2 separate regions of the Homo sapiens genome follow, and region 2 is linked to region 1. The links are contacts of gene promoters, found by promoter capture Hi-C in human tissues and cell types (Jung and others, 2019). All regions are on one chromosome and are shown on one strand. Each heading gives the region's core, a stretch centred on a gene start or on the middle of the fragment in contact. The rest is flanking DNA. Distances are from core to core; before and after follow the strand shown.

Evidence for each region. The method cuts DNA at HindIII sites, captures the fragments that hold promoters and counts their contacts. A contact is called where the count stands out against the background at its distance.
Region 2: a fragment that was not itself captured here is called in contact with the fragment with the promoter of RRAS2 in region 1 in 1 of the 25 tissues and cell types used here (aorta).

Annotation. Positions count from the first base shown.
Region 1 is chr11:14,357,879-14,360,474 of GRCh38, reverse strand. It overlaps RRAS2 (RAS related 2), which reads left to right and starts at 1,292. Exons shown (of 6, transcript NM_012250.6): 1 at 1,292-1,712. The coding sequence starts at 1,605. RefSeq lists silencers at 1,193-1,692, 1,763-1,962, 2,003-2,122 and an enhancer at 2,363-2,462. The HindIII fragment of the contact is 8,284 bases long and covers 1-2,415 here.
Region 2 is chr11:14,294,030-14,296,625 of GRCh38, reverse strand. RRAS2 (RAS related 2) reads left to right here. Exons shown (of 6, transcript NM_012250.6): 2 at 771-858; 3 at 1,764-1,866; 4 at 2,047-2,155. Among named protein-coding and RNA genes, the nearest start is that of RRAS2, 64 kb to the left of the region's middle. The HindIII fragment of the contact is 7,091 bases long and covers 1-2,596 here.

The sequences.
Region 1 (2,596 bases), core at 43-2,542:
GGGCCATGATTGTGCCACTACACTTCAGCCTGGGTGACAGAGGGATCTTGTCTCAAAAAAGAAAAAAAAAAGATTTTTAAAAAAGGAATTCAGGATGGGCTGGCCTGGATGGGTATTTTTGCTTGGGGTCTCTCACGCAGTTGCATTCAGATGCTAACAGGGGATGCCGTCATTGGAAGGCTCGATTAGGCTGAGTGTCCAAGATGTCTCACTTAGATGGCTGGCAGGTGATGCTGGTGATCTGGTGGGAGCTCAGTGGGACTTTTTTTTTTTTTTTTTAAATGGCATGTTGCTCCTGGCCATCAATCAGACTTCGACTGGCATGCCTACATGTAGCCTCTTTAGCATGGCAGTCTTATGATAGTCAAACTTCTGACTTTGTTCCTCCCGGAGTGAGAATACCAAGAGAACAGCTGCATGGCCTCTTCTGATCTAGCCTGGGAAATTAGGCAGCATCTCTTCTGCTGCATTCTACTGGTTCCAAATGAGTTACCAAGTGAAGTCCAAGAACTTGCAGTCATGTTCCAAGATTGCTGTAAATGCTTCCTGTGTAGCAGCACTGTTTTATGTGCTCATTTAATTCTTATTAAAAACCCCATGAGGCCGGGTGCAGTGACTCACACCTGTAATTCCAGCACTTTGGGAGGCCGAGGCGGGAGGATTGCTTGAGGCCAGGAGTTCAACCCCTCGCACTCACACTCCTCATATCCAATTACTGCACATTTGTCACACATAAACATAGCCACTATGACACTGTACTGACACATACAAAATCTGTCACATTCCGTCTTGCCCATGCAAGCTCAATCACTGACTTATTCTCCATGCTCAGCCACTGTCCCATTCTTCACACTGTCACAACCACCAGCCCATCACACACTCAATTACTGTGACACAGCTCTAATCCTCAATCACTGTCACATACTGTTTTTCACACAAATATGGTCACCATCTGTACTCTTAAAGCAGGGTATGTACTCTCCTATAAAATTGAGTTAATATGCCAACAGCCCTATTTTTCGCACACGCCGTCACATATTGTATTTTTCATCCACACAATCCCTTACATAGACAATTAGGGTGACACACTCTTTCTGCCTTCGTCCCACTCCCAACTGACACCCACTCCCACACTCTCACGCACTCGCTCACTGGCTAGGGATTAGAGCGGTGTGTCCGTGGGGGTCTGAAGCCCGGGTTACCTCCCGAACCTCAGCCCCAAGCGGCGCGGCCCCGCCCCTCCCCGCCCCCTCATGCATATGCAGCACCTCAGCCTGGCAGCCCGGCCCCCAGACGGCCATTTGTGGCGGCGCTGGAGGCTGCGTTCGGCAGGCGCTGCGGAGACGCGTAGAGGAGCGCGCCCCCCGGCCGCTGCCGCCCCTGGCCCGTGCCGTCACCCCGCTTCTCCGCGCCTCGGGCGGTACCCAGCCAGTCCCCAGCGCCGCGCTACCGCGCTGACCGGCCCTCCAGACGCCTCCCGGTACCCGGGACCCCAGCCCGGCCGCTCGCCCGCAGCCCGCCGGCCGCACACGTCCCCGGAGCCGGGCCTAGGGCGGGCGGCAGCGGCGGCTCGGCGCAGTCAGGCTGGGCTCTGTAGCGTCCCCATGGCCGCGGCCGGCTGGCGGGACGGCTCCGGCCAGGAGAAGTACCGGCTCGTGGTGGTCGGCGGGGGCGGCGTGGGCAAGTCGGCGCTCACCATCCAGTTCATCCAGGTACCTGGAGCGGGCCTGCCCGGGGCGCCGGAGCGGCGGCGGGCGGGGGCTGGCGCTACCTGTGGCGGGGCGGCCGCCGCGACCTCGCCCCAGAGGCGCCTCGCGGGCCCGGGCCGGGGCCAGGGGGCGGGAGGGCGCGGGGCCGACTACGCTCCTGCCCTGCGGCCGCAGCGTCGCGCTCCTGCCTCCTCCCGGGCGCGGCGTCGCGGGAGTAGGGCTTCTCAGGAATGTGGTCGGGAGGGCGGAGCTGGAAGGGTGGGAAGCACCGATCCACCTTATTGCTCTGGCCGAGGCCAGAGACCTCCGGGAGAGGCTGGGCCACCGAGCCGGGCTTTACTGCTCCGAGGGTCCGGGCGTGGGGCTGGAGCTGGAGCCCCGCGCGCTGCTTTTCCAGCCGCCTGCGGCCGCGCCTTCACCGTCGGGGCGATAGCGGTGGCAACTTGGCCGCGGCTCCGCGTGGTCTCCGGGCTTCCCCGCGCCGCCTGAGCCGGAGCTGCCCGCTTCAAGTACTGTGTATTTCTTTGTGTGTGTGTTACGCTCTTTTTATAAGTACTCTCTTAGGTAATATGTCCGGGTGGGAGTGTGTGATAATGCCCCGGGGAAATGGTGGCTTCTAGGAAGTTAAAAATGTTCTCTGATGGGGTGAGACCATTTCCTAGGAATTCCTGATGCCGTCCTGCTTCTCGCCGTGCCTAGGTGAAGTTTGGGATGGGCCGGGCTAGGATATGACCGAGTCGTGCGTTCTGTTTTCTAACCACCCTCTCCCCTACCCCCAGCCCTCTCTGGTTGCTAGAGACGGTAAGTCAGGGGTTTGTGGTAAAGAAAAGGGAGGTGGTATTCTTCCTTCTTAGAATTTGCTCTTGGGGAGAGGTTTGAGTAGTCTT
Region 2 (2,596 bases), core at 60-2,559, 64 kb after region 1:
GTATAAGATGAAATGTTCCAGGCCTCTTTGTGTTGTCTCCATTTTTTCCAGATACTTGACTTCTTAGGACTGATGATTATAATCAGGTTGCTAATTCAAATAGGTCTGAATTATAACTTACTGTGTTTTCTAATTTTTCTAGAGTTTGAGATCTAGATTCTTAACCTTAAATAATTATGAAAAAAGTTGTAGATCTTTTACAGTCTTGCATATTTCAGATATGAAAATTTAGAGATACCTAGTACCTTTTCTTCACGTGAAGGTGCTCATAAGAACATTTGGTGGGGAATTGTCATAGAGGGTAAACCCTAGTACAGTGAAAATGTTTTGATTAGTTCTGGATAAGTGGAATTTGTTAAGCAAAGTTACATTGGTACATTGGTAGGCAGGTAATCATAAATTTTATTTTATTTTTTATTCTATTTATTTTATTTATTTTTATTTTTGAGACAGGGTCTTGTCCTGTCTCCCAGGCTGGAGTACAGTGGCACAATCATGGTTCATTGCAGCCCCAACCACCTGGGCTCAAGTGATCCTCCCACATCAGCCTCCCAAGTAACAGAGACCACAGGTACACACCACGTCGGCTAATTTTTTAATTTTTTAATTTTTTTTTAAGAGATAAGAGTCTTGCTGTGTTGCCCAGGCTGGTCTCAAACTCCTGGCCTCAAGTGATCCTTCTCCCTCGGCCTCCCAGAGCATAGGATTACAGGTGTGAGCTACCATGCCTGGCCATGAATTTTAAAATAAAGTTTTTTCTTTTCTTGCAGTCCTATTTTGTAACGGATTATGATCCAACCATTGAAGATTCTTACACAAAGCAGTGTGTGATAGATGACAGAGCAGCCCGGCTAGATAGTAAGTAAACTTCCTTTGTTTGATAATTTGCATATCATATTTTTTAAAAAAGTAAGCGCTGATGTTTTGCTATGTTAAATAATATATTTGAAATATTAGATGATCTGGAATATTAGCCCATGTCATTTATAAGTTTTGATTGAAGAGTCTGCATAATGGGTAATTTAAATATTCCTCAATAAATGAAAAGTAAAACGATATTTGTATTGATCTTGTTCTAGTGAAACTGGTCTCATTGCAGTTTGTTGAAGTTGATTTTATTGGGACAACTGGAAAAAACCTGTCAGGTCTCAACTCTTCCTACCTTTTGGCAAAGGTTAAAATGGATGAAGTGAATATAGAAAAAGTTTGATACTGTTACTTAGAATTTATAGCACAGAGACTTTAGCAAGTACTGTTTTGTGTCTAAACATCCCCCCTCTCCACAAAGAAAGCTCTATTCTTCTAATATGTATGATTCTTTTATTTACAGAGATCAAAAGTTACATTAGCACCTGCACTAAGTATGGTATTGGGGGATAGTGGTTATAACTCAGATTTCTTTCTTGAATTTACAGGTATCTTTTTCAGTTTTTTCCATGGAGGGGATAAAACATTCAAGTGATTTTAGAGGTCACCTGACTCCATCTGATTAAATGTGTTTGATATTTTTAAGCTTCTAATTAGTGTGCTAATATATTCTAACCACAAAGTCAACCCATACTGATGAAGATAAACTCTGTAACTGTCTGCCATTAGAATATATTTGCCTTTAGTATTAAGAATAAAGTACTAAGAAAGGAATGCCATTTCTGTATTATACCAAGTATGAGGCTCTCTAGAGGACTCACATTAATTGGTCTTGCCCTTGTGGGGAAGCAGTTTATAAAAAACAAGTATAATTACATTTGTTGTTTTTTCTTTAGTTTTGGATACAGCAGGACAAGAAGAGTTTGGAGCCATGAGAGAACAGTATATGAGGACTGGCGAAGGCTTCCTGTTGGTCTTTTCAGTCACAGATAGAGGCAGGTTTGTACCATATTAGAATGTAGATCCACTGTTCTTGTCAAGATCACTAGACTTTATTGAGTTTGGACTTTTTGTTTTTATAGAAAAAGGAAAAATAAAGTACTAATTGGGGCATGAGACTTGCTGAATTCTGATACTTGACCAAATTGATTAATTTGTTTTTGATTTTTTTTTTTTAAGTTTTGAAGAAATCTATAAGTTTCAAAGACAGATTCTCAGAGTAAAGGATCGTGATGAGTTCCCAATGATTTTAATTGGTAATAAAGCAGATCTGGATCATCAAAGACAGGTGAGAAGGAATTTCACTGTTGGGAAACCAATTGTTTATAATCATGTGAGTGAACTGATAGATTTAAGGAAATAATTGAAAGTCTAGTAAAAAAAAAATACGGTGCTCCATGCCACTTAAGTGTTTATAGCTGAGTCTGGCACACTGTATTTACAGAAGTCACAGCGGGTGAAAAATAAAAAGGAAGTAGATTTGGGGAAATTAAAATTCCTTATTTTCAAATAGTTTTTCATAAAATTTTATAAGACTTTATAAGCCTGCAAGTGTTTAAACTAGCTTTATTCGCATGTAATAATTTCTTGGATTACATCCAAAACTCTAACTTAGTTGGATAATTTCAAAGTTACCACTAAAGGCCTAAGTTATTCGGTGTTAATACTAAATTAACTTCATGTAGAGAATGGCTTTCATTTAAATTGCAGTATTTGGATTTTTTTCTAA